7 separate regions of the Homo sapiens genome follow, and regions 1, 2, 3, 4, 5 and 7 are each linked to region 6. Evidence: promoter capture Hi-C in 16 types of primary human blood cells and fetal thymus (Javierre and others, 2016). All regions are on one chromosome and are shown on one strand. Each heading gives the region's core, a stretch centred on a gene start or on the middle of the fragment in contact. The rest is flanking DNA. Distances are from core to core; before and after follow the strand shown.

Region 1 (3,904 bases), core at 375-2,874, 350 kb before region 6:
GAACTCAATGGCCCGATGTTAGATATTGGGTATTTTTCAATCTTCTGTTTTCTGACCCTTCCAAGAAAGTTTGAGGAAGAACATGTACTGCTTTCACGTTCATTTCGCCCATTCAGATGTCTTGGCTTGAACCTTATGACTCCGTATCAAAGTCCTCACAACCTGTCTCAGATCCCTGATGCACAAATTAGGTCTTATTAATAAGTGTGGGAAAAGAGAGGAGAGTCCACCTTCTTGGTCAGGCCCCTGAGGCATGCATTTCTACCAAGGAATATGGACAGATGACAGAGGAGAAGAGCCCAAAGCCAAATTTATACATGAGTGCAAGTGGATGCAAATTTGTTGCTCCCTGCATCTGTGTATATGCTTTCTGTTAAATACAGAAAGAAGGAACAATAGGCTTGCACACTTTTCTAACTACATGTTTAAGTGGCAGAGTCCAGGCTGTCGAGTCACGGTTGGGTTTGAATCTGACTCCACCAGTAACTTTGGTTGGAAAAAATCACTTATCCTCTTTAAGCTTGATTTTATTTATTTTATTTTATGTAAGAGTGAGACAGTAGTAGCTTAATAGGGTTGCTTTTAAATTAGAGTGAACATGAGGCATTTATTCGGTGCCAGACAGATAACTGCCTATAACAGGATGTGATCAGCACAAGTAACAGAAAATTAGCCTGACGGTGGCTTAAGCAATGGGAATGTTTATCTCACATAGCAAAAAGTCTGTAAATAGATGGTTCTAGAGTTGGGTGGAAGCCAAAATGTCATCAGGATTTCCTTGGAACCGTCTGCTTTGCCATCCTCAGTATTGCAGAATGGCTGCTCCTGCGCCAAGCATCATTCTGCAAATGATGGTGTCCACAGCCAGAGTGGACAGTAGTACAGGAGCCTTCTCATTCTGCCCTTATCCGGGAATAACCGTCAGCAGCTCCAGCAACCTCCCCCCTGTCTCTTTATAGAGTGGGGCCACGTGCCCACTCTTGGACCAGGCCCTGGCAAAGGGGGATGGGTCGACTAGTGTATCCCCTGGCACTGAGCACACTTGCCCTTGAGCTGGGGTTTTGTTAGTAGGGAGGAAGCTGGAGTGGCAGTTGGATAGACAATTCATAGTAGCTGCTGCCATGTTCAAAAAATGCTGCAATGTAAAATCATAAAGTATTCATCTAGGCATAACTTTTTAAAATATTCAGTCACCTTTTATTCTACTAAAATCAATTTTAACATTTTAGTGTATATTATTTTATTTTAGATTCAGCAGGTACATGAGCATGTTAGTTTTGTTTTGTTTTGTTTTGTTCTGTTTTGTTTTTTGAGATGGAGTCTCACTCTGTCGCCCAGTGGTGTGATCTTGGCTTACTGCAACTCTGTCTCCCAGGTTCAAGTGATCCTCCCGCCTCAGCCCCCCAGATAGCTGGGATTACAGGCACATGCCACCACACCTGGCTAATTTTTGTATTTTTAGTAGAGACGGGAGTTTCACCATGTTGGCCAGGCTGGTCTCAAACTCCTCACCTCAAGTGATCTACCTGCCTCAGCCTCCCAAGTGCTGGGATTACAGGCGTGAGCCACTGCGCCCAGCCACATGTGCGTGTTTGTGTATATTGCGTACTGGTGGGGATTGGGCTTCTGTCATACCTATCACCCAAATAGTGAACATTGTACTCAGGTAGCATTTCAACCCTTGCCCCCCCTCCCACTCACCCCCTTTTGGAGTGCCCAGTGTTTGCTATTTCCATCTTTATGTCCATAGGTACCCATTATTTAGCTCCCACTTATAAGTGAGAACATGTGCTATTTGATTTTCTGTTTCCGAGGTTAGGATAATTACCTCAAGCTCCATCCATGTGGCTGCAAAGCACATGATTTCATTGTATTTTATGACTGCTCATGTATATTATTTCAGCCTCCAAAATTTTGTATGTTATTTATAATGATATAAATTATGTGGTTTTATCGTGTACTCTATCTCACTCAGAAATACATACAATTCTTCGTTCCCAGCTACTCTGGAGCTGAGGTGGGAGGATCACTTGAGCCCAGGAGTTCAAGACCAGCCTGGGCAACATGGTGAAACCTTGTCTCTGAAAAATAAATAATACACACCCACATGCACACACATCCAGTTCTTCCATGTTAATGAGTATGTTGTGTTTCACATACTTCTGAATTAGCCGAAGGAATTAAAGGTAGCATCTTTTAATCCTCAGACTGCCCTGCGTGGTCCGATTGAATTGGGCAGTCAGCACTAGGCTCTTCAAAGGGAAACAGGCTTCTTTCTTAGGACGGTGCACAGTGAAAGAGTGGCACACACGCTGTTCATCCAGTGCTCCAACCCCCAGTCCTGGTGTCAGATACTTCTACATTTGGGGCATTTCCCCTTGAGATGGCTGTGGCTAGCGACACATGATGTGAACACCTCTCTTGGATTGTGGTTCGGCCGCACAAGGCCCCATCAGAGTTCTACAGGTGGAGTGTGGGGCCCAGAAGGGGCTCAGGTCTTAGGGGTGTCATCTGAAAAAACAGAGATGGTGATGGGACACCAGTTCTAGGAGCCCTCTGCATGGCCACTTTCTGCCTCAGCTCTTCTAAAGCATTTCTTCTGTTCCCTTCCATTGGGGTAACCACTGATCTGTCTTCCCAAAAACTGAGTCAGAAGTTGGACTTTGTTACTTGGCTCATCTACATTTAAGATATAGTCAGAAAAAAAATGCAGTCTTTACATCTTAAGAAAGCTTACATGGGCCAGGCGCAGTGGCTCACACCTGTAATCCCAGCACTTTGGGAGGCCAAGGTGGGCGGATCACCTGAGGTCAGGAGTTCGAGACCAGCCTCAACATGGAGAAACCCCGTCTCTAGTAAAAATACAAAATTAGCTGGGCGTGGTGGTGCATGCCTGTAATCCCAGCTACTTGGGAGGCTGAGGCAGGAGAATTGCTTGAACCTGGGAGGCGGAGGTTGCGGTGAGCCAAGATCACGCCATTGCACTCCAGCCTGGGCAACAAGAGTGAAACTCCATCTCAGAAAAAAAAAAAAAAAAATAGAAAGCTTACATGAAAGAAAAAGAAAAATGCAGTCTTGATCACTGTTGGCCTGGAGACTTTATCTTGTGTGTTTTCCAGGGCGTGCATGAGGTTTCACTGGACAAGTAGAAACCATTCTAGGTATTCAGAAAGAGTTAATACAAGAAGAGAAGTTTATAGACTCGTTGGAAGGCTGGAGGAGTGAGCCATAGGTTAAGCATCCAGGAATCAGCACCCCCTAGAACAGATGGTGAGGGAGCTACACCCTCTGCCACAATCAGGAGGGTGGAGACTCAAGCTCGACTGAGTTCCGGAACACAACACACTGCCACAGCTGCCAGCCAGGGGTGAGGGAATCCCACAGCCCCAGCTGCCTCTGGGGAACCATACAGCTGTAGCTGGACCCTGGCACACCTGAAGAAAGTGCCTGCTGTGTGCTAGGCACCCTGCAGGAGTTAGGAAAGCAGTGGTTAGGGGCTGTGTCCTGCTGGAGGAGCCTGCACTCTAGTGAGGGAGACAGGATAAGCTTAAGGAAGGACGTTAAAAGGTGACAAGAGTTTGGGAACTTGCAGGGAGCAGGGGATTCTGGGTGGTGGCGGGCATGTTGCAGCAAGTAGGGTAGGTCTCCTTGAGAGGGTATCGTTTGAGGAAGTGAACCAGCGGGATCAGATGCAGGTGGGGAGAGTGCTCTGGGCTGAGTGAAGAGTAAGACAGAGACTGGCTGGAGCTGAGGGAGTGAGAGGGGTGGGACCTGGCCCTGGAGGGCTTTTAGGCCATGGTAGGGACCTTGGCTTTATTCTTTTTTTTTTTTTTTTTTTTTTTTTTAGACGGAGTCTCGCTATGTTGCCCAGGCTGGAGTGCAGTGGCGTGATCTTGGCTCACTG
Region 2 (3,553 bases), core at 804-3,303, 460 kb after region 6:
TCTTTCTTTCTTTTTTTTGAGTTGGAGTCTTGCTCTTGTCTCCCAGGCTGGAGTGCAGTGGCGCCATCTCTGCTCACTGCAACTTCTGCCTCCCAGGTTCAAGTGATTCTCCTGCCTCAACCTCCCAAGTAGCTGGGATTGCAGGTGCCCACCACCACACCCAGCTAATTTTGTATTTTTAGTAGAGACGGGGTTTCACCATGTTGGTCAGGCTGGTCTCGAATCCCTGACCTCATGTGATCTGCCCGCCTCGGCCTCCCAAAGTGCTGGGATTACAGGCATGAGCTACCAGACCCGGCTGTTGTGGCTTTCTTTACAGAAAAGTCTCCAAGGAGAACATAAACTCTAAAACCCCAAATCCAAGAAATTCAACACAACCCAGTTGTGGCTTTCTTTACAGAAAAATCTTCCAAGTAGAAAGAACATGAAAGTCTAAAGCCAAAAATCCAAAAAATTCTTTATAGAGATAAAAAAAAAACCCCACAACAGAGCAAACAAACCAAATCACTGCAAACCAGTGCTAAGAAAAATCTTTAAAAGCAGCCAGAGACCAAAGATCCACCACCCAAAGAGAGGCAAGATGCCCTGGGGACCTAGGCCCACAGAAACCACAGCAGGAGGGGGAGGCAGAGGCCCCTGTACACTCTCCTCACTAGGACAGTTAGGTCCTCCCTCCACTCAGAGGTGAGACCAAGGACATACTGTGGTGTGGGGCGGAAACAGTGAAAACATGAGGTGTGTAACAATATCCCATGAAACTCCAATGCTTCACACTGACATTCTTCTAGGTCAACACCAGCATTCTCTTGACCTTCCTTTCACTGTTCCTCCTCTCCCTTCCAGCCCCTCTGTACAGTCTTGAGTTAGGTCTAGGCCCACACACTTCCCCACTCTGAGCTGCGGTCTCTTCCTCTGTAAAATGTGATGATTCAGAACCTCTCCTGGCCCCAAGCGCAGTTCCAGGCGCTGAGCACACCATGCTGTTCCCTACAAAGCCGACTCTTTGTCCCTTCCCCATTATCACGGATACTTGCCAAGAGGTGGCAAGAAAGGCTCTTCCCAGGCCAAAATGCAGCTGCTATTATCAAGCAGGTCAGGCCCCAAGTGCCACAACTCCCTTCTCCTAAATCTCGTTTTCCCAAGGAACCCCAAACAATGGCATTGGCGATGAGCGGCCCCGCACGCGTAGGGGCGCAGCCGCTAAGGAGGGGAAGGGGCCTCTCCAGCTGCGCCCGCGACGACTCCCGCGCACGGAACGGAACCACTGGGCCGCAGCGACCACAGGGGAGTTCTTCGCCGGCCGCAGGTTCAAAGCGATCTGCAATGAGCGCCTTTAGGAATTCATTCGAAGGCGCAAAAGAAAAAGAAATTAAGGCAGGAACTGAGCGAGGAAGGAAGGGAGGGAAAGAAAGGAAGAAAGAGAAAAAGAGAAAGAAACAGAAAGTAAGGAAAGAAAACAAAATCAAAGTCCGACGACCTCTCCGTGGCTTCACGCAGCTTACTCGGGAATTCCCTCCTTGTCGCCCTCCCCCACTGGATTCGGGAATTTACACCAAGTGGAGCGCGCGCTCTGTTCCCTGGCGGCCCAGGTCGCTCCTGCCCAACCCGGGGACCCATCTCTTCCCCCGACTCCGACGACTGGTGCGTCTTGCCCGGACATGCCCGGCCGCAGGCGACCCGGGCCACGCACCCCCGCCGTGTCCCCCTCTCTCCCTGCCCTCTCCAGGCGCCAGGCACGCTCTTCCCCAGCCAGGGACCGCGGCGGGGACTCACCAACAGCAGGACCGCGGCGACAACGAGCACAAGGGTCTTGGGGACCCGGGGCCCAGGCCTGGCTCCCCGCGCCTCCCTGGGTCCTGGGCCGTGCCTTTTCCGGGCCCCCGAAGCGGCCGGGGCGTTCTGTCCCCGTTGTTCCATGGCGGTAGGGAACGCTCTTATAGTCTCTCAGGCCCGTGGGTTTCAGCCCTTAAAGTAGATCGGGCATCGTCGGTGTATTTTGTGGGCGCAGAGATTGCGGGGTTCTCCGGCCGCGTGCTGATTTATGTGTCCAGGCTGACTTGGGGCGGCGCGGCTGTACTTTCACTGCCTCCGGGCAGGCGTCATTCGGGGCGGGGCGAATCAGATCCAATGTGCAACTGCAAATTCCACCACAGGTTGGTGACAATAAATAAGAGTCTCGTCAACGCAATCCTCCGCAAGCGCGTCCAAGTGGGGAGGGGAGGGGAAGGGACCGGAACTAACCTTCGCCCTGGCGGCTGCGCCCCGGGCTGTGGTTTGTTTCTGGGTCCTGTCCGCGCCAGGACAGGCACCGAAACTTGGGGGAAATGAGTTGAGGGAGGCACTTGGGGAGTTGACGCCTCCCGGGGTCGCGCGCTTGGCTGTGAACAGGGTCTTGAGGTTCAGAGTCCGCTTTCCAGGCGCGTCTTGATCTTCTCCCCTTCCCAGGGGCACCTGCCCCTTCTGTTCTCTCCTTCTCTCTTCTTTCCTTTTTTCTTTCGTTTTCTTTCGTTCTTTCGTCTTCTTTCCGTCCTTCCTGCTTTCTCTTTCCTTCCTTTCTCTCTTTCTCTTTCCTCCCTCCCTCCCCCTCCCCCTACCTCCCTTCCTTGTGGTTTATTTTTTGAGACAGTCTCTCTGTGGCTCAGATTGGTGAGCGGTGGTGTGATCCCGGCTCACTGCAACTTCCGTCTCCCAGGTTCAAGCGATACTCCCACCTCAGCCTCCCATGTAGCTGGGACTACAGGCCTGCACCACCACGCCTGGCTAATTTTTGTATTTTTAGTAGACACAGGGGTTCACTATGTTGGCCAAAAGACCATCGAACCCAGCTTACACTCACACCTAGTCCACAAATGTGCCTGTGTCCCTGCACCCTTGCTACACTTAGCTTTCATTTGTCACTAGTCTAGGAAATAAAACATGATACATCACATTGTTATGTATTTTCATTCCTTCATGGTACTGTGTCCGGAATTGGTGGGTTCTTGGTCTCACTGCCTTCAAGAATGAAGCCTCGGACCCTCGCGGTGAGTGTTACAGTTCTTAAAGGCGGCGTGTCTGGAGTTTGTTCCTTCTGATGTTCGGATGTGTTCGGAGTTTCTTCCTTCTGGTGGGTTCGTGGTCTCACTGGCTCAGGAGTGAAGCTGCAGACCTTCCCAGTGAGTGTTACAGCTCTTAAGGCAGTGGGTCTGGAGTTGTTCTTTCCTCCTGGTGGGCTCGTGGTCTCGCTGGCTTCAAGAGTGAAGCTGCAGACCTTCAAGGTGAGTGTTACAGCTCATAAAGGCAGTGTGGACCCAAAGAGTGAGCAGTAGCAAGATTTATTGCAGAGGGAAAGAAGGAAGCTTCCACAGTGTTACCACTGCTGGCTCTGGCAGCCTGCTTTTATTCTCTTATCTGGCCCCACCCACACCCTGCTGATTGGTAGAGCGGAGTGGTCTGTTTTGACAGGGCGCTGATTGGTGGTTTACAATCCCTGAGCTAGACACAAATGTTCTCCACTTCCCCACCAGATTAGCTAGATACAGAGTGTGGACACAAAGGTTCTCCAAGGCCCCAC
Region 3 (3,886 bases), core at 693-3,192, 350 kb after region 6:
ACAAGGGCAATCCAAGGAATGGACACATTGATAGATCAGAGATATTGACATGAACATGAAAATGGCAGCAAAACTAACTGGCTTCTTCCACAGCAGGAAAGGGAATGTCAGTTGAAGCTCCACCAGACAGGTTTTTTTTGTTTTGTTTTGTTTTGTTTTTGTTTCTGTTTTTGTTTTTTAACGTATGTATAGACAAAAATCACTCTATTGGCTGCTAGTTATCTACAATGTATAAAGTTGTAAAATAGCTTAATTCAATGAATCAGAGAACCTGGAAGAATGAGCTCTAAGCTATGTATCGTTTTCTATTGCAGACACTTAATAATCTTTTTTGTTTATTACAAGCTTCCTTGGCAGTGGTGACATTTCAAGTGAATAGGGAAAAGGACACACTATCCAACAAATAGTGTTGAGACAATTGGATTCACTGTGAAAAAATAAAATCATGTTGTGATGCCATACTTTAAACAGAACAAATTTCAGGTGGATTAAAAAATGAAATATTAAAATGGAAACTTTTAAATCTTTAGAATAATATGCAGGAGAATATCTTTAGTACCTTAAGGTAGGGAAGGAAATATGACAGAAAAAAAACCACAAACTGTACCAAGGAAACCATAGATTTGACTATATCTAAAACAAAAACCTTTTCTTTCGTCAAGATGCCCCAGATGGCTGGGTGCGGTGGCTCACGCCTGTAATCCCAACACTTTGGGAGGCCGAGGTGGGCAGATCACTTGAGGTCAGGAGTTTGAGACCAGCCTAGCCAACATGGTGAAACCCAGTCTTACTAAAAATACAAAAATTAGCTGGGCATGGTGGAGCACGCCTGTAGTCCCAGCTACTTGGGGGGCTGAGGCACGAGAATTGCTTGAACCAGGGAGGCAGAGGTTGCAATAAGCCGAGATTGCACCACTGCACTCCAGCCTGGGTGACAGAGTGAGACTCTGTCTCAAAAAAAAGAAAAGATACCCCAGATAAAAACTATTGCATTGCCTATGGCCAGTAAAGGATCCACTTTCCCAGAATGTATAAAGAGCTCCTGCAAATCAAATCAGAAAAAAATCAACAACCCAGCAAAAGCGGGGAAGCTCTAGGAAGAGACTGTGAGTGCAAATGACTCCGCACTGCAGTAGCCCCTGCACCGCCTTTCGGAAGAGCACTTGCATCCCAAACCATTAAAAGGAACCTACTGGGACAACTGTGGCCCCCGAGGTTTACCGAATGCCAAGTTTATCCCCACTCTGGCTCCATGTCCTCCAGGACTCTAGACCAATGTACAGACTTTAACAATTGCAGTTGCTTTGAAGATTCTCACTGTGGAGGTCAATTCTGCTTCCATTGTGGAAACCAGGATCTCATCCATCCATCAATTCATTCAATAAATCTTTTTTTTTTTTTTTTTTTTTTTGAGACAAGGTCTCTCTCTGTCACCCAGGCTGGAGTACAGTGGCATGATCATGGCTCATTGCACCCTTGACCTCCTAGGCTCAAAGGATCCTCCCACCTCAGCTTCCCAAATAGCTGGGACTACAGGTGTGCACCACCATGACCAACTAATTTATAAATTATTTGTAGAGATGCGGTCTCATTATGTTGGCCAAGCTGATCTCAAACTCCTGGGTTCAATCAGTCCTCCTACCTTGGCCTCCTAAAGTGCTGGGATTACAGGCATGAGCCACTGTACCCAGACACTCAACAAATCTTTAGTGCCCACTCTGCGCTGGGTATAGAGGATATGGAAGGATGCCACCTCCTGGAGCTTCCCCCCAAAGGCAGATGAAGAAGTTAAATCCCAAATGGAGACGGGCACTAAGGAAGGGCTCTGGGACCCTACCTATGCTCACCTTTGGTTTGCCCCTCAACCCACCCCTGTGAGTTCATGGGGTGTATTTTTTCCAATTGATTCCATACTTTCAGAGAAGTTACACAAACAGTACAGAGAATTTTCAATATACCTTACACCCAGCTTCACCCAATAATAACTAATGTCTTGCATAACTGTAGAACAGTTACCAAAGCTAGGACATTAGCCACAGAATTTATTCAGTGCTCACAAGTTTTCCCGTTATTGTCTTTTTCTGTTTCAGGTTCTGATATGCTTTGGATTATGTCCCCACCCAAATCTCATGTTGAAATGTAATCCCCATTGTTGGAGGTGGGGCCTGGTGGGAGGTAATTGGATCATGGGACCAGTTTCTTATGAGAGGTTTAGCACCATCACCTCAGTGCTGTTCTCATGATAGTGAGTTCTCATGAGACCTGGTTGTTTAAAAGTGTGTAGCCCCTCCCCCTCCTCCTCCTGGTCCAGCCATGTGAAGTGCTCACTCCCCCTTTGCCTTCTGCCATGATTGTAAGTCTCCAGAGGCCTCCCCAGAAGCCAAGCAGATGCCAGCATCATGCTTCCTGTACAGCCTGTGGAATCATGAGCCAACTAAACTTCAATTAAACCTTTCTAAATTACTCAATCTCCAGGTTTTGTTTGTTTGTTTGTTTGTTTTTGAGACAGGGTTTTGCTCTTGTTGCCCAAGCTGGAGTGCAATGGCGCAATCTTGACTCACTGCAACCTCCGCCTCCCGGATTCAGGCAACTCTCCCGCCTCAGCCTCACAAGTAGCTGGATTATAGGCATGCACCACCATGCCCGGCTAATTTTATATTTTTAGTAGAGACGGGGTATCTCCGTGTTGGTCAGGCTGGTCTTGAATTCCTGACTTTAGGTGATCCACCCGCCTCGGCCTCCCAAAGTGCTGGAATTACAGGCATGAGCTACGGTGCCCAGCCTCAGGTATTTCTTTATAGCAGTGTGAGAAAGAATTAATACAGCTTCCAATCCTAGATCCACACTGTAGTCAATGTTACACATCCTTAGTTAGCCCTAGTCTGTTCTTCAGTCTTTCCTTGTCTTTCATGACCTTGACATTTTGAAGGGTACTGGCTAGATACCTTGCAGAACTCTTCCTCACAATTAGGTTGAGGTGATATATTATTGCAGAGGATGCCACAGAGATGATGAGCTCTTCTCGGTGCTTCAGATCAGGGGTGTGGGATGCCGATGTGTATTCCTGGTGAGGCTGATCTTCACTGCTTGGTTAAGGTGGTGTCTTCCAGGATCTTCCACTGTAAGCTCACTATTTTGCTCTTTTGTGATCACTAAATATTTGAGAGGAAATACTCTGAGATTATGCAAATATCCTCTTTCTGCTTAAGTTTTGCTTTGGGCTGTTTTTCAAACACATCCCTGATTTGGGCTTCATAAGCCTGATTATCCCCGACAGCCAGCCCTTCTTGGCTACTCAGCTGACAAAGGGCACTTGCTGCCCCTTTTGTCCCCTGCCCACAGGCACAAAGAAGCCACGCTGTTCCCACCTGGGGCAGCATGTGTGTTCCTGGACCAAACTGAGGGTTGGGCTGCTTGTTCTTGTGGCCCAATAACGAGATGCAGATGAACTAGGAAAGGACGGAGTTCATTTCTGTAACAGGGCACAGGGGGAAGGTTTGCAAAATATCGCCAGGCCAACTCAAAATTACAAAGTTTTCCAAAGCTTATATACCTTCTAAGCTATATGTCTATGTGTAAGAGTACGTTCATTTACAGACATAAGTGATTAACTTTTTTTTAATCTATAACTAAGATCTGAGTCCTAAAGACCTTCCTCTGGAGCCTCAGTAAATTTGTGTAATCAAAATGGGTCCAGGTGCTGGGGTGATTACCCTTATCTTGTCTCCTGCTAAGCCATGGAGGTTTGGGGAGTTTCTTCAGACCCCCAATAAATGTGTTTAATCCTAAACGGGTCCTGTGAAGTATTTCTTCATTATCTTGTCTTGCCTTAAGGCCCAGGAAAGGCCTAGGCAAAGCTGTTGGTGGGCTTTTGTTACATCCCAGT
Region 4 (3,867 bases), core at 71-2,570, 410 kb after region 6:
CAGCAGACGTCATAGCCTGGGGCCTTTCCTGGCCTGTCCGGACCTGCCCGGGCCCTGGTTTTCCTCACCCTGAAGTGAGCTGGGGGATGTGGTGGGGCAGGGTGAGCACAGGTCATGTGCTTCTTCAGCTGATTGGTGGCCGTGTGTGTTACAGAGCAGTACACAGTGACCGGGCTGATGGAAGCGACCCAGATGATGGTGGACATCGATGGGGACGTCCTTGTGTTCCTGGAACTGGCTCAGGTATCATGGCAGGGGAGGGAATCTACAACAGTCTCAGTTCTACACTCTGCCTGCCCATTGGCTGCGAATGGGAAGGGGTGGAAGATGGTCTATGCGGGAGAACCTGTCATCGGACTGGGCTCTTTGACTGCGCGTAGCCCATCTCCTCCTCCATGCCAGGAAGCAGCTGGGGAACTCCCTGGTGTACCCGGAGGGGAGCTGACCAAGTGGGGAAGGGATGAGGCTTTAGGCAGCAGTAGGGCTGGGGAGGGAACCCCAGGCTCAGGCTTACACATGGTTGCTGCCTGCCTGAGGTCATTTAAGGGGCACTGAGGACTTTCCATCTGAAATTAACCGCCTACTCCCTTAATCCCAAACAAACAAGCCAAATCTCCCACAGTGGCCTTCACAGTGCCAGAAATTCAGCCACCAAAGATTAGTGTGTGGAGTGGAAGCACGGCTCAGGCAGGGCTTGCAGACACCCCTGGGAAGGCAGCTCCCTTAGCTCATTGTCAGTGCCTCCGTGCAGGCTGCCTTGATCCCAGATGTGGAGGAGAGAGAAGTCAGGTAGGTTGAGATCTGAGGAGGGCAGATGCAGTATGAAGCCACTACATAGGGCTCTGGTGTCTGCAGCGAGGATGCCAGGAGTGGGCAGAACAGAGGTGAGATGATGGTGGTGCTGGCGGTGGTGCCAAGGAGCCTGAGGCAGCATCATCATCCTCAGTTTTGTGTGGCCTTGCCTCTGGCGCAGGCTCTCTAGAACTGCAGGGCCTCTGCGTGCCCTGCACCAGAGCTTCAGCTCTGAAGGCAGCTGGAGGTGTCTATGCAGACCCTCTCCCCTGGGGATTTCAGTACAGACGTTCTTCCCTTCTGTCCCCAGTTCCACTGTGCGTACCAGCTGGCCGACTGGTGTCTCCACCACATCTGCACCAACTACAACAACGTGTGCCGCAAGTTCCCCCGAGACATGAAGGCCATGTCCCCAGGTGAGCATCGGGGCCAGTCCTGGCAGTACCTGCTGCCCTCCCCTTAGGGGTGCACAGCTCCCATGTAATCCCAGGGACCCCGAGGCTGCCAGTAATCCTTGACCTTGGGGCTGGGAGCAGCCTGCAAAGGAGCCTCCAGCCAAGCCAAGGGGCCCCAGGAAAAGTGCTGGCCTGGAGGGCAACTCACCCTGCCTCTCTGGGCTTCTCATTCTCAGAGGTATGAAGAGGATACTGGACTAAAGTTGGTAGATTTCAGACTTTTCTGGACAGAATACCGTAAGAAATACATTTCATCTTGTGACCCAGGACACATATAGGAAAATATATACATCTTTCTAATGCTGCTCATGGCCCACTAAATTGATGGTACAACCCAGGAATGGGTACAGGCCACAGCTTGGACCACCCAGGTCTGGGCATCCTCTGAGGCCTCCTGTCTCTTCTTGATTAATTTCTTAGGCCCTAGAACTCAACAGAAACTGCACAGGCTCCAGGGAGAGGTGTCCCTGGCCTCCCTGAAGGGTCTGCCACTCTTTCCATGGGGTCCTCTCTGGGCTCCCTCCAGTCTGCCGTGACCCTCCTCCCTGCTGCCGTGTTTTTGCCTCATGCTGCCAAGTCTCCACCCCGATCTCTCCTTTTCACTACTACAACACTTTTAAAAAAAAATTATTTATTTATTTATTTTTTTGAGACAGTCTTGCTCTGTTGCCCAGGCTGGAGTACAGTGGCACAATCTCGGCTCACTGCAACCTCCACCTCCTGGGTTCAAGTGATTCTCATGCCTCAGCCTCCCGGGTAGCTGGGATTACAGGTACCCACCACCATGCCTGGCTAATTTTTTGTATTTTAGTAGAGACGGGGTTTCACCACGTTGCCCAGGCTGGTCTCAAACTCCTGACCTCAGGCAATTTGCCTGCCTCGGCCTCCCAAAGTGCTAGGATTATAGGCATGAGCCACTGCACCCAGGCTAGCATTTTCTTTCTAAAGCACAGGTCCAATAGCATCACTCCCTGCTTCCAGACCTTCCACTGAAACAGTAGTCTTCCATGGCCCCCCATACCCTGCAGAATAAGGCCAGCCGTTCCTCTGGTCTGCTGCTGTGTCCTGCTGTGTCCTGACTCCGTATTCCCCCTCGGAACCTTAGCTCTGGCCAGAAACTTCCACTCTCATCCCCTAACCATGCTGAGTATCTCCTGGCTGACATTCGCTTACCCCTTCTCCCTTATCCTTCGCCTCTGTTTCATTCCCAACGCACAGGAAGCCCTTGTCTAGATCGCCCGTCTTTGGAAAGGAACCCAGCTGGAAAGGCCTTCCCCAGTGCTGACTTTCAGCCCTGCTCTTTGGGAACTTTGCTTGCCTCGGAGGCTCATGTGCCGTGGGTCATGGGGATGTGCTGGGGGCTGGGCTGGAGGCCTGCTGCAGGCCTTGTGGTGGGGTAGGGCTGGTGTCCCACGTTCCTCTTGTCCCTCTGCCTCCTTTCTAACCAAGCTGCCTGCTCTCTGCTCCAGAAAACCAGGAGTATTTCGAGAAGCATCGGTGGCCACCTGTGTGGTACCTGAAGGAGGAAGATCATTACCAGCGGGCACGGAAGGAGCGTGAGAAGGAGGACTACCTCCACCTCAAGCGGCAGCCCAAACGGCGTTGGCTCTTCTGGAACAGTCCATCCTCCCCGTCTTCCTCGGCAGCCTCCTCCTCATCCCCATCTTCCTCCTCGGCTGTGGTCTGAGATGCTGCCACCCTCTTCTGACCCTGCTGCTGTTGTCCCCATCCGCCTTCACCCCTCTGCTCTTCCGCATCACCCCATCCACCTTACAGGGACCAGGGGGCCCACGTAACCAGGACCCAGAGGGTGGAGCTCTTCTTACCAGCCACCGTGGCTCAGCCAGAGAGGAGCTGAGCCCTGTGGAGCAGAACGGGAACCACCTGCAGAGGTCCCCAGACCCAAAGCAGGACGGGAGACAACTGCTTGGAGGAGCGAAGAGCCCTGGCATTTTATCTCTGGGTTTGAGAGCCCTAGAGTCAAAGGGAAAGCCTCCCAGCCTCCAGGGCTTCTCTGTGTGTCTTGGTTGCTGCTCTGGCCAGGGAGGCAGCCCCACTCCCAGCAAGCAGAAGTGATCCTCGAGGGTCCTGCCCCTGTTGGCCATATCTTTCCACCGACGGACTTGAGTGTTGCATTTGTTTTGTGGGCATTTCCACACGAAGCCTACTCACACCCTCACTGGAGAAGTCAGGGTAGAAATTGAGCCTTCAGAGCCCAACTCAAGGCTTCTACATCCTGGGGTGCAGCTGCAAAAGGCCAGACGTGGAAAGGCCTGTATCCTGCCAGTGTCCCTCCGTCCCAGGGGGCTGTGCTAGCACAGACCTGAGAATGGGGACACAGGTCATTCAGAGCTCCAGGCCTGGAAGCAGTGCCTCTTGGTGCAACAAGAAACTTCTCCCTCACCCCCTCCTTTACCCTCAGATTTGGAGATGGTAACCAAAGGAAGCAGCTGGGACAGGTGGAGAAGGAAGTAGGAATGAGTGCACGGCGACCCCGTGCTCCTCAGGGCCCTCCCCTGCCTCTGGGTGGCACTGCTTTTTATAGGGTGGGGCAAAATTAGCAAAAAACAAAAACCAATGACAACCAAACTGAAACCGAAACGAAAAATCAACAAACACT
Region 5 (3,855 bases), core at 1-2,500, 390 kb after region 6:
TTTGCATTTTCAGAGCACAAGATGGAGGAGTGGTGGAGGCGGTTCAGGTGGGTGGCAGGCTGGTCTGGGCTTTAAAAATTGTCCAGAGGTAACTGAGGAGATGAATCAAACCAGACTGAGCTGACTACTTAACACTAGCAGTCAAGATCATCCTGGCTGGGCATGGTGGCTCACGCCTGTAATCCTAGTACTTTGGGAGGCCAAGGCAGGCAGATCACCCGAGGTCAGGAGTTCGAGACCAGCCTGGCCAAGGTGGTGAAACCCCGTCTCTACCAAAAATACATAAATTAGCTGGGAATAGTGGCGTGCACTTGTAGTCCCAGCTACTCGGGAGGCTGAGGCAGAACTGCTTGAACCCAAGAGGCGGAGGTTGCAGTGAACCAAGATTGCACCACTGCACTCCAGCCTGGGCAACAGAGGGAGACTCAAAAAAAAAAAAAAAAAAAAAAGATTATCCTGATAAAACCAGCCTTGAATATGGAAAGTGTCTTCTAGGGACCCCTCAGGTTATAGATGTTATACCTTAGAATCTCTCTATTTTACAGAGGGGTAAATTGAGGCAGAAAACCCAAAGAAGGCTTAGGGACGATTTTCGAGGCTACTCACTTCATGGTGTTTCTTTCAGAGATTAGCAGCTATTACTGAACTCCAGGAGGCAACAGGAGGGGGATGGGATGGAGGTGGGGACCCGCTGAAGAAGGCCTAGGTGGGAGACAGGTAACGTGGTACAGGTACCCACCCCACAACTCATTAAGGGCCATGGAGGGAGGAAGGCTCTCAAGTGCCACGAAAATTCCCAAAGCAGCAGAGGGCTTGTATGGAAACGCCGGTTATTCGTCCCTACCCGGCCCCCGCCCCCCGCCCCCCCGACTGCCCCTGCCGTCGCCTCCCCGTGGGCAAGTGGTGGGGGCCTGGGCTTACAACCACACGTTCTCCTCCAACTAGCATCCCTTCCAGGGTGCACTAGGATGCCTCTCAGAGGTTCTCCCCCGCCTCCCGAAGGAAAGGGGAAAACCCCGTGGGCGTCCGGAGAGCCTTTGCGCCTCGCCAGGTGGAGGGACCGGCGCCACCCAGACCCGCGAGCCGAGACCCTCCCCGCGGCGTCGCTGCGGGAGGGGCGGAAGAGCGCGGGCGGTGGGCGGGAGCGGTGCTGCGAGGCGGGATCTGCGGGGCGTCCAATCCCCTTCTTCCCCCGCCCGCCCCCTCCCCGCCCCCCGAACGCTTTCCACCAACTGCGCGCGGCAGTGGGCGGGGCCCGTCACGGCTGTCGTCTTGGGTGCGATTTTTTTCTCCTCCTTTTTTTACCCTCCCGTTTTTTTCTTTTCTTTTTTTTTTCCCTATCCTTTTTTTGTGAATGAAAAAAGGAGGTCGCGAGCGGTACCTGGGACTGCAGCGCCAGGCGTCTTCGCGGCAGCGCCTTCGCCGCGGGCCCGGGCGCGTAGCGGCGGCGGCCTCGCCCCTCTCCCGGCGCCCCTGCGCGCCGCCCGCTGCCTCCGCAGCCCGGCTCCGCGCGCCGCCGTGACATTGGGCGCCTGGCGCGCGGGGCGATGCTGATCCGGAAGGGGCAGCGGCTGCAGTGCAGCGCGCGCGTCCGCTCCTGGGCCCACGTCCGGCCTGGGCTGCCCTGCCGGAGTTTCTGAGTGGCCGCGAGCTGGCCGGGAGGCTGGAGCCCAGCAGCAGCGCGGCGGCGCCGGCGTCGTCCCAACTTGCAGGCGCGGAGGGACCCCTGACATTTCACTAAAATGAGCGTGCTCAGCAGGAAGAGATGTGTTCCTCACGCTAGAAGCCACCCCGTCACATGTAGTGGTGTAAGTAGATGGCTGCTTGCGGTTATGGCGGGGTGGCCAGCAGCCCTTGCAGACGCGCCGCTCCGCCCTCCCTGCCCTGCCGCGCCCCTCGCTACGTTCCCCGGGCCCCGCTAGTCCCTGGGCTCTGGCTTCGGCTGCTGGGTACAGCGGGGCTGGAGCCTAATCCTTTCCGGTGTTTCTAGGGAAAGGAAGATGACTTGATTGCTTCGGCCTGTCGTGCCCCTCCCCCTTCTCGATGTTTAAAAATTTTTAAATTTCTATTTTGTGTGTGTGCAGAGTAGCGTGTCAGAAAAAAGGAAAAACGGTCCAGAGTGGTGGGAGTGATTCTGTTAAGAAAACAAACACAAAACAACAGTGGAATTGGGGTGTTTTGCTGGCGGTTCCGGAGCTGGTTCTTTGAACTCAACTCCATTGCAGTCTATGTAACTGAGTTCTGTGAAACTACTGGGGAGATCTTTGGCGGTGTTTGGTGATGTGTCCACATTTTAGGTTTGAGGGGGCTTATCTGTGTTTAGGCTTGCATTTCTTTAATCTGACCATTCAGGGTCCCTTTGGGCCTTGCTTTCTGTTGGATCTGCACGGGGCTTCTTGCAATGCCAGCGACCCCCGTGGGAGCCTCCCCGAATTAGGAGTCCACTCTCTCTTTGTTCTTCTCCTTCCAATTCTCCATTCAATCCATCTCCCTTGATTTTACCTTCATTTTCAGGATTTTCCTCCCATTCCCATTTTGTAAGATGATGTGGGATACTGGTTGCTAGGAGACAAGCCAGGCTCCCAGGGAGATTCTGTTGTTTCCTTGACAACCAGACTAGGGCAGCCACAGATGAACAAGCCTCCTATCAGCTGTGGGAGGGAAAGGGGCCCTTTCTGAGCTCTGCAAAGAGTGTGTGTAGGGGTGTGGGGGTGGGACTGGGAGAGCACGAGGTTTGTAGCTAATTTCAGCACACCTTGGGTTTTGGCTTGCACCAAGTACAAAGAGCTGGGAGAGCGGTGGGCAGGAGGCTGTTTTTGGAGGGGCACAGGGATCATGGGACAGGGATGGAAGGAACACATGCCAGTGACTTTGCGATTGTCATGGAAGAGGAGTGAGTTGGGGGTTGTGATGCCCAGGGCTGGGTGGTGAGGAGGTCATAGTTTATGGAGGTTGATTGAGTGGGGATGAGGCAATTGTGAGGGAGAGTCTGGAGTCAGGGAAGAAGAGAGAGCCGGAGGGAGAGGGGAAGCTGAGAGGCTCACTGAATGGGCTGTATCACCATATATCAGCAATGAGTGGGCTGTATCACCATACATCAGCAATGATACAACATCAGCAACATCCTAGGGCAAAAATTATATTACTCTTGGCACACTCTCTCCAGGACAGGATCCTCCTTTAAGACAGGCCTGATTAGACTAAGAGTTCTAACACTTGAATTGGGCCAGTCTGTATCTTAAAGACAGATATAATTACACATATAGATATGCAATCTAGCATTATATAATACCACATTACATAAGAAGACAAATACCTCCTTTCAGCCCAGCCTCTCTTGGCACAAATTAACCACGGTTCAGGAGACTCTTCCAATGTCTTCATACCCATTTCCCAGAGGGGGAGACTGATGCCCAGAAAATATAAGTGACTTGCCTCTTCCTAGATAGGACAGTGAAGTTTGCCAGTCAGGCAGTTGGGACAGGGTAGAAAGGGTGAGATGATACAAACAGAGAGGCAGCTGAAGGACAAGGGGACTGCTGAAGGGGCTGGGGAATGGATGGAAGGGGTTGCGCAACCCAGAAGGTCTGATGTCTAAACTCATGGCACAGTATTTGTCAATTTCCACTTGTTGATTGGCTGACCACTGCTTAACTCTAGAGGTGACATAGCACAGGTGGGCAGCAGTGTTTTCATCACAAAGTAGCTGAACTTGGCCCAGCACTGCTCTGCTGGTGTTCTGGCATTATTCTCACTGTCAAGGTGCTCCTGAATTTGAGAACTGGCATCCCTCCATTAGGCCTCCTCATTCCCCCGCTTCTGTCTACAGACCTACATGCTGGGAGAATCGGAACT
Region 6 (3,931 bases), core at 1,071-3,570:
CAGGCGACTTGTCCTGGCTGTGGCGACAGCTGTCTCTGGGAGCTTGGTCGGGGGTCTGAGTGTGGGGAGGGCTCTGGGTGACCCCTCATCCTCTGCTCAGCGGGATATCTCCCACTGGGACAAGGTCAAGGTCCTGCTCAACCGGATCTGCCGGAGAAGCCACCACCACCCTGAGCCCCCTGCCCCTCCTGATGGCTCTGACCCCAGGTGAGCCCCGTGCCCAGCCCAGGTTAGGGCACGGAGAGGAGACTGATAAGCCAGGATGCTGAGATTGTCATGCCAGTTGTCATTATTGTCCCCGCAAAACTTGAGAGGCAGTCTGGGAGGGGCTGCTAGAAGAAACAGTAGTTAAAACACCCCATTTACAGATAAGGAGGCAGGGTTCTGGGTGGGGTTGGGGGTAGTTGCTTTTCCAAAGCCGCACGGTGAGTCAGTGACAGCTAGGACCAGAATGTGGGAAATCTGCCTACCCTAGCTCAGCAACCCCTCACCCTCAATGCTGACATTTAGGCCACCTTCCAGGTTCGTGGGGAGAGCAAGGTGGAGCACAAAGGATTTCACAGTGGGTGAAGGCCATCATGCTTCGGGGCTTGTATTGAATCGTTCTCCAGGAGGAAGAAATACCAAGTCATTTAACAGCCCCGGGCTGCGCCCACACCCAGCTACCCACCAGCAGATAAACCACGTTCTCTCAACTCTAGGGCCATTGTTAGTTTTATTTCCCCCTTCTAGCCTAATGTCTTCTTTTCATTCCACAGGATCGAGTCCAGGGACCTCCCTGAAAGGCCTCAGTGCCGCCCCCACCGGAAGACCTTTATGCCATCATTAGTGGTTAAGAAGCAACGAGCAAAAAACCTTTCTGTAGGCTGAGACCTCTCGGTGCACCTGGTGACCCTGGGTGGAGGGGACTTGCTGTGAAGTCTTCCTCGCCCTCTGCCCTCTTGCTGCTTCTCCACATTGCCAGGAAAAGCTGCTGACGCCTGCCCTCCTCTCTTGAGTCGAGGGCTGAATCTTTCTCCTCTAAGCAGTCTGGTCAGGAACCTTGGTTTCTTGAGAGGCCCCCAAGATGCCGCAGCTCCAGGGCTCTTCCTCCTCACCAGAAATCCCTGGGCTTCCACAATGTGAACTCACTCATTGTCAGGTGTCCGTGGAGTGTTTTTGGCATGGTGACCTGTCTGGGCCCAGCATGTTGCAGATGTGTATTTATGCGCAATGGTATGCATATCTCTGTGTGACTGTCAGTGTTGCAAGCTGGCTGGATCCAACCATCTCTTCTGAAATAATGCATCCAAAGGGTTGATATTCTGGGGGAGGTCACTGCAGAAGGATGGAACTGACCTTTATTCCCCAGTGGGCAGTTACTGAGCTTTCCTCCTCAGAGCCATGCTGGCAGCCCTGGGACAGAGAACGGTGTGGCTTTGGCTGCCTCTGCATGGAATCTTGCCCCGGACTCCTGAAGACTGCACAAGGAATGAGGAAGATCAGGGACAACCTGGGAACTGAATAACTTTCAAAGCCAGTGCTCAGCTTCTCTGCTCCGTACTAGCGTTTACAGGTCTTAATTCAAACCAGATGCCTGTACTAGTTTTTAGACCCCAAGTCAACCTTTCTGAGCCACAGCTTCCCGCTGGGAATAATGATGCCTGCCCTATCTACCTCACAGACTTGTTATGAGGATAAAGTGAGATTAAACTGCCTCAAAGTGCTTTGTAAACCTCAGGTGAATAGGAAAGGGGAAAGTAAGGCTGGAGTGATGATGGGGAGGTCGGAGGATAAGGGGGGGCTGGGATTGCTAATGGGGACTAAAATGGCCAGTCTCCTGGCAAGATTTTGAGCAGGTCATTTCATTGAGGCCTCTTAGATTTCATATTTGAGAATTAGGGCACTGATTCCTGACTGGCTAGGCATGGTGGTCACTGGCTTGAGTCAGACCAGGAATGTCTCTTAGAAATGGTCACTGATAGGCATCCTTCTCCTCCAGTCAGGAGGGGCTGGTTTCCTTATCTGTTGCAGTCTCGACTGCCAGAGGGAGGCGAGCGTGGTAGGCAGTCGGGGGTCCCTTGTGTTTGGGGGGCCCAGCTCCCGCTTCCTTTGAGCCCGGAACCAATGATCCGAAGCCTTCTTTCCTGATGGGATTCTTTAGCGAGGACACTACCGAGGCGCGACTTCCTGACGCGCATCCGATCCGGGAAGGCGCACTTCCGCTCCCCAGTTGCCGCGGGATGGCAAGCCGGCGTGGGGGAAGGGAGAGGTCGGCGGAGACGAGGGAGGGACCATATCCGGGAGAGCGGCAGCTTCCGACCAGTGGTCGCGCTTCCGGAGAGGCGCTTCCGGTGGCGGCGGCAGCAGCGGCTGTGGTGGTTCCGGGTGTCTTTGTCCCCCCGGTGTCGCTGCCCTGGCCCGCAGGTGGGTTGGGGGGCCCCCTGCCGCCCCTCTGCCCCTTCGCCCCTCCGCCCCTCCGCTGGCCGAGGGGCTGCGAGGGCCGGGCGGCGAAGATGCGTGGGGCGCGGAAGGGGCCGAGCCCCTCTTTGGACTGCAAGTCCCGTCTCCCTGGCAACGGCCTCGGCCTTGGGGGCGGGCGGGAGGAGGAGAAACCGCGCGCCTCAGTCCTCCCTTGGTGGCCTCGCCGCGGCTCTGCTGGGAGACCCGGCGCTGGCGGCTGCTGAGGCCGGAGCGGAGGGCCCGGGAGCGTGGGAGCAGGAGGGTGGCGCGCAGCCGGTTTCGCGTTTGGTCGGCCAGGGAGCTGCCTTCCCACCAGCCGGTCGAGGAAACAACGGGTCGGGCTTCCGGGGAGAGGGCCCACACAGTCTCCTCGCCGGCACCGGCCTCCTCCATTTTTCCGGGCCTTGCGTGGAGGGTTTTGGCGGATGTTTTTGAACGAAGGAATGTCATCGGGGCTCTCTCGAGCCCCTCACCCCGCCAGCTACTCTGGGGGTGGCGTGGCATAGTGAGAGGAGCGCTAAGTTGTTGGGAGGCCTGGGTGTGAGTAGCAGTTTTGTCACTACCTGGTTATGTGGCCCCGGGCAAGTCTCTTGATCTCTCTGAGCATCAGTTTCCTTGTCTGTAAAACAGCATGACAGTATCATGCACCACTAGGTTATTGTCAGGGCAAACTGGAACAATGTAATTTCTTGTTTCATTTCTTTCTTCTCTATATTCTCTCCATCCATTGCTTTCATTCATTCTTATTACCCACCTCCCTGTTTTCCGAAATATCCTTACTTAAGATTCTCCACTTTTCCGGGTATAGATGGAAATTTCCCTTATAAGCTGTTAATTTCTTTCTTTTTGGATTGAAGCCTTTTCCCCACGACTCTGAAAGAGGACAGCGTTCCCAATGTCCCAGTTTAAGCGCCAGCGGATCAACCCGCTTCCAGGGGGACGCAACTTCTCAGGTGATCACTGTTCTCCCTACCTGGCCTCATCCTGGGAAGTATGTGCTCTGGAGTTAGTTTGGGGTTTCCCTGGTGGAGAGCAATTTGCTGCTGATGTTCCTCTGGAAAGCAGGAGATGCCCACAGTGATTGCCAGTGAAGCTCTGTGGAGGAGCTGGCTGGAGCTGTAGCCTTTGGATTTACCACATCCTTTGGTTGACTCGTGCTTAAGGTGGTAGGGGCGGTTCCTGGAGATTGCTTCTCTTTCCCCATAGGCACAGCTTCAACATCTCTTCTGGGCCCTCCTCCTGGTTTGCTCACTCCTCCTGTGGCCACAGAACTGTCCCAGAATGCCAGGCACCTTCAGGTAGGTTCGGCATCCCTTGTAGTAAGTTTCAGCCCTTGGGACTGAATGCATGGAGGCCTGGTGCTCTTTTTCTCTTACATAATAGTGTTTATCATTCCTGATCCCTCTCCTGGTAGTGGGCTAGTATGGGGTTGCCCAGATAGCCTTCAGACTGGGGCATCTTCATTTCTCGCTCCAGGGAAATCTTTAGC
Region 7 (4,077 bases), core at 114-2,613, 380 kb after region 6:
TATTTATTTCCTTTCTAATAAATTATAACTGCATGTTCATTGACTGTATTTACTTGCTAGAAATCATTTACGAGTAAATATCTGATAAAAAAGCAAAAAACATATAACAGTATATGACATGCAAATAGAATAACTAAAAATAGTTGGTATTCAGATGTTGAAATCATGTGTTTTTTTTAACTTAACTTCCTGTTATGTTTTCTTATCTTTGAAAGTAAGTTTAAAAGTTATTTACAGAAAGTAGTTCCCTGCCTGTCTTCCTTTATCTTATATATGGCCATGATGTATACATATATTCCCATCTTTATTAGAATCTTTTATGAACCAAGTTATTTAACATACCAAGTTGCAACTTTGTGTTTTGACTTGGTTAAATTACATTTTCTTTTATCACTGACCTTTGGGATGCAATAAAATAATTAAAATACTGTTCTTACCCTAAGAAAAACAAAATCCACCCATATTTGTTGCTTTAATGACATTTTACAAGGGAAATAAAAGATCTTTCCAAACATTTTTCTTTCTTCCTCCCTTCCTTTCAAAATAATTAATTTGTTTATTATTTTGGTAAATAAATAAATCTGTGCTTCTCTCAAACACTCCAATCTAAAAGTATTACATACATATTGTAAAAATCTGGAAAATATAAAAATACATACAGAAAAGAAAATTCTAAGAACAATAATTTTACCATCCGGAGATAACTACTTTTTATATTTTGTAATAGTTCTTTCTATCCTTTGTGTATGAATTTTTTTTGGTTTTGTGTACAATCATGTACTGTGGATGTGTGTGTGTGCACGCATGTACCACACAGATTCTATCTTATGGATACGCCATTATTTATTGAAGACATCCCCTCTTGGAGGACAGTTTATTTTTTTCTTCATTTTTTCCCCACTATCACTAGTGTTTATGACGTCCTATACATAAACCTTTTCCTGACTTGTGATTATTTCCTTAGATTTTGTTAGTAGAGTTTTCTTGAGCCAAATTATGGGAATTCTTTTTTTTTCTTTTTTCTTTTTTCTTTTTCTTTTCTTTTCTTTTCTTTCTTTTTTTTTTTTTTTTGGGACAGAGTGAGACTCTGTGACAGAGTCTCACTCTGTCACCAGGCTGGAGTGCAGTGGAGCGATCGCAGCTCACTGCAACCTCTGCCTCCTGGGTTCAAGCAATTCTCCTGCCTCAGCCTCCTGAGTAGCTGGGACTATAGGCGCGTGCCATCACGCTCAGCTAATTTTTATATTTTTTTAGTAGAGACGGGGTTTCACCACGTTGGCCAGGATAGTCTCGATCTATTGACCTCGTGATCCACCCTCCTTGGCCTCCCAAAGTGCTGGGATTACAGGTGTGAGCCACTGTGCCCAGCCAGGTATAAGAATTCTTTTAAGCCTCTTAATATATATGTAGAGAAGCAAAAAAGAAAAGTTTTCCTCTATCCTGTTAGGTTCATTATTTGAGGGCTGTAAATTGAACTGACAAACAGCAGATTAATAGGAGAAAAAAAGGTTTATTTATGTGCACGTGGGAGTCAATAAAAGAAGTAGCATATATCATCTGATTAGTTTCCAGATATATTTTGCTAATTTACACTCCTACTAAGCAGAAGGAGTATTATCACTCTTTAAAATCCTCACCAATTTGATAGGTTAAAAATTAATCTAATTTTCACTTTAAAAATTACTAAGTAAGGCAAAACCTTTTTAAATGGTTGCTTCTATATTTATTTCCTTTTTCATGAATTATAACTGCATGTTCATTGCCTATTTTTACTTGCTAGAAATCATTTACTAGTAAATTTAAATCCTTCAGATTTTACGTATTCAATTGTTACATTAGAATATTTATGAAGATAAACAGTGAAAAACTTGTGTATTTACCTTACCAGTGTGAAGAGAAATAAGAATTCATTTAATCACCAAATTCCTTAGTAATTTTGAAAAACAGAAGGGCCAGTTCATTTAATCGGGGCAATTTTGATTGTTATGCTAGCTGTCTTCAAAGTGAAATTCTGAACTAATGTCCAACACCAAGTTTTTTTAAAAAACAAACTCTGTGGATATTTAAAATCAGAGCTCTAAATTCCAAGGAATCTTTTCTTCTAACAACTTTGTGTGATGTCCCAAATACTTTAGAAATCCCAAATTACAACTTCGTGTTTCAACTTGATTACATTAAGTGCACCTCACCCCATAGCCGTGACCCAAAAACAATATTTTTAAATTTGCTCTCATCTCCTATATTTAACTTTCTCTTTCAGCCACAGCCAATCAAAAGAAAACACCAAATTGCTTGGTGATGTTTCTTCTTCCAAGTATGATACGTTATCTGTTTGTAGAGATTAAAGCAAAAGAATTTGTTCACAACTTTTCCAATTTTAAACCACCAACTGATTTGTCTCTGAGATTTATACAAGTATTTTCCAGAATTCTATTTCAGTACATATAAAAGGTCTGCTTGTCAGATTACATATTCTTTTCTTACGATCTCATTTCCTGTTGTAAAGCAAGTTGTCAGTGCCTGGCACACCTGCCAGAACTCATTCAAGAAATGCTTACTGGCTGGAGTTGATTCAACCACCCAGTAAAAGTGAAATGTTTCCTTATCTCTGGTTGTGGTGACAATCATTTTTAAACCTAGGCTGAATTTTATCGATATTCAAAAGAAAGAGAGCTTGGATGAGTCTGGGGGAGCTACCCGCAGCTCATTCCTGGTGTAGGACCCCCTCACCCTGGCTACTGCTCTTCTGTACTTCAGTGGAGCCCTGAGACATTCTCTCGCCAGGGCAGGCCCCTCTAGACTGTTGTAAGTAGGCTGGTTTTGAGAGCTGGGTCTTTTGCCAAACAGATTCATTTGAATAAGACACCAGGTCCTTGCCTCGAATTAGGGAATTCAGGAATTTGCAGCTGTGGGTAGTCCAGGCTTCTTCTGTGGGGGTTGAAAGAGGGCAGAGGTGGGAGGTGGGGTAGGGGTGAAGCTGAAAGGGACAGAGGTGGGTGCAGTCAGCTGCCCTGTCCCCCCACTGCCTGCCCCTGAAGCAACTCAGTGTGTTTTCTTGGTGTGCAGAATGAGCAATAGGCCCACTCCTGGCTGGCATACTCTTACAGCAAAGTGCCAGCTTTTCCAGACGAGTTTAGGGTCTCAGCCTGGCCCTGAGCCCAGTCAGCTGAGCACCAGCTGCAGTGGCGCCTTGCTGCTGCAGCCTGGGCGGTTCCATATCCGCCACTTTACACTCAGGTGCAACTGGCCACTTTGCCCACCTGCCCCCCGATACCAGGCGCCCCTACCAGGATCTTAAGGCCCTCAATGTATAAATGGTGGTGACCGTTACCAGAGAGGCTGAGTCCTGGGACCTGCCCAGGCATTTCTGCAGTAGACTAGAAGAGAGCAGCCACCTGCTTGCTCCAGTGACCTCTGGCTCTGTCCTGCCACCATTGCAACTAACCCAAGTGCAGGAAGACTCAGAGGCCACTGGTTCAGTGCCTCCATCCCTATGCCATCAAGTAGCCAAGAAAGGGCCTGGGCAAGATGACAGTGTGTTTTAAACCCGTTCTCCCTGTCTCCTGGCCTTCCCACCTGCTGTCGGGACACACTGCTCTACCATCTCCTTCCAATAGTCTTCTTGCCACTCCTCATTCTCAAATCTTTCTTGGCCAGGCTCGATGGCTCATGCCTGTAATCCCAGCACTTTGGGGAGGCCGAGGTCGGTGGATCACTTGAGGTCAGGAGTTCGTGACCAGCCTGGCCAACATGGAGAAACCCTGTCTCTACTAAAAATGCAAAAATTAGCTGAGTATAATGGTGGGTGCCTGTAACCCCAGCTACTCAGGAGGTTGAGGCAGGAGAATCACTTGAACCCAGGAGGCAGATGTTGCAGTGAGCTGAGATGACACCATTGGCAAGAGGATCACTTGAGCCCATGAGGTTGAGGCTGCAATGAGCTGTGATTGCGCCACTGCACTCCAGCCTGAGAGACAGAGCGAGACAACGTCACAAAAACAAACAAACAAATGAAGAAAACCCCATGGATCTTTCTCACATACTATCTTATTCCATTCAGGCTGCTATAATAAAGTA

Evidence for each region. The method cuts DNA at HindIII sites, captures the fragments that hold promoters and counts their contacts. A CHiCAGO score of 5 or more calls a contact.
Region 1: a fragment that was not itself captured here is called in contact with the fragment with the promoter of CCAR2 in region 6 in 1 of 17 cell types (endothelial precursors); the score reaches 6.8 in endothelial precursors.
Region 2: the fragment with the promoter of TNFRSF10B here is called in contact with the fragment with the promoter of CCAR2 in region 6 in 2 of 17 cell types (naive CD8 T cells and total B cells); the score reaches 5.5 in naive CD8 T cells.
Region 3: a contact is called between a fragment that was not itself captured here and the fragment with the promoter of CCAR2 in region 6, in 1 of 17 cell types (endothelial precursors). The highest score is 6.5, in endothelial precursors.
Region 4: a contact is called between a fragment that was not itself captured here and the fragment with the promoter of CCAR2 in region 6, in 5 of 17 cell types (naive B cells, fetal thymus, naive CD8 T cells and 2 more). The highest score is 7.0, in naive B cells.
Region 5: a contact is called between the fragment with the promoter of RHOBTB2 here and the fragment with the promoter of CCAR2 in region 6, in 3 of 17 cell types (total B cells, M1 macrophages and naive B cells). The highest score is 6.2, in total B cells.
Region 7: a fragment that was not itself captured here is called in contact with the fragment with the promoter of CCAR2 in region 6 in 1 of 17 cell types (fetal thymus); the score reaches 5.8 in fetal thymus.

Annotation. Positions count from the first base shown.
Region 1 is chr8:22,252,396-22,256,299 of GRCh38, forward strand. POLR3D (RNA polymerase III subunit D) reads left to right here. Exons shown (of 9, transcript NM_001722.3): 9 at 1-2,206. It overlaps PIWIL2-DT (PIWIL2 divergent transcript), which reads right to left. Exons shown (of 2, transcript NR_134293.1): 2 at 2,181-2,511. Among named protein-coding and RNA genes, the nearest start is that of POLR3D, 9.2 kb to the left of the region's middle. The HindIII fragment of the contact is 2,212 bases long and covers 519-2,730 here.
Region 2 is chr8:23,066,978-23,070,530 of GRCh38, forward strand. TNFRSF10B (TNF receptor superfamily member 10b) reads right to left here and starts at 2,054. Exons shown (of 9, transcript NM_003842.5): 1 at 1,774-2,054. The coding sequence starts at 1,917. It also overlaps the pseudogene TNFRSF10B-AS1. RefSeq lists promoters at 1-3,146, 1,914-2,584, enhancers at 1,438-1,697, 2,238-2,287, 2,308-2,477, 3,259-3,553 and a cis regulatory region at 2,039-2,044. The HindIII fragment of the contact is 4,380 bases long and covers 1-3,336 here.
Region 3 is chr8:22,954,177-22,958,062 of GRCh38, forward strand. All of the region lies in intron 1 of RHOBTB2-AS1 (RHOBTB2 antisense RNA 1), which reads right to left. It also overlaps a transcript of RHOBTB2 not described here. Among named protein-coding and RNA genes, the nearest start is that of PEBP4, 28 kb to the left of the region's middle. RefSeq lists an enhancer at 3,072-3,573. The HindIII fragment of the contact is 3,199 bases long and covers 344-3,542 here.
Region 4 is chr8:23,014,536-23,018,402 of GRCh38, forward strand. It overlaps RHOBTB2 (Rho related BTB domain containing 2), which reads left to right. Exons shown (of 10, transcript NM_015178.3): 8 at 155-243; 9 at 1,103-1,208; 10 at 2,717-3,867. The coding sequence ends at 2,934. Among named protein-coding and RNA genes, the nearest start is that of RHOBTB2-AS1, 17 kb to the left of the region's middle. RefSeq lists enhancers at 1-556, 58-107, 3,733-3,867. The HindIII fragment of the contact is 9,071 bases long and covers 1-3,867 here.
Region 5 is chr8:22,998,298-23,002,152 of GRCh38, forward strand. It overlaps RHOBTB2 (Rho related BTB domain containing 2), which reads left to right and starts at 1,251. Exons shown (of 10, transcript NM_015178.3): 1 at 1,251-1,808. RHOBTB2-AS1 (RHOBTB2 antisense RNA 1) reads right to left here and starts at 1,508. Exons shown (of 2, transcript XR_007060857.1): 1 at 1,382-1,508. RefSeq lists silencers at 931-1,190, 1,411-1,580, 1,911-1,960. The HindIII fragment of the contact is 10,673 bases long and covers 1-3,855 here.
Region 6 is chr8:22,602,437-22,606,367 of GRCh38, forward strand. CCAR2 (cell cycle and apoptosis regulator 2) reads left to right here and starts at 2,321. Exons shown (of 21, transcript NM_001393997.1): 1 at 2,321-2,406; 2 at 3,300-3,395; 3 at 3,649-3,740. The coding sequence starts at 3,338. It overlaps C8orf58 (chromosome 8 open reading frame 58), which reads left to right. Exons shown (of 7, transcript NM_001013842.3): 6 at 101-207; 7 at 759-1,706. The coding sequence ends at 870. LOC107986876 (a long non-coding RNA gene) reads right to left here and starts at 2,564. Exons shown (of 1, transcript NR_160769.1): 1 at 697-2,564. RefSeq lists enhancers at 2,039-2,148, 2,155-2,655 and silencers at 2,319-2,618, 2,679-2,738. The HindIII fragment of the contact is 4,257 bases long and covers 1-3,931 here.
Region 7 is chr8:22,978,688-22,982,764 of GRCh38, forward strand. The region is part of intron 1 of RHOBTB2-AS1 (RHOBTB2 antisense RNA 1); the gene reads right to left. It also overlaps a transcript of RHOBTB2 not described here. Among named protein-coding and RNA genes, the nearest start is that of RHOBTB2, 19 kb to the right of the region's middle. The HindIII fragment of the contact is 5,747 bases long and covers 1-4,077 here.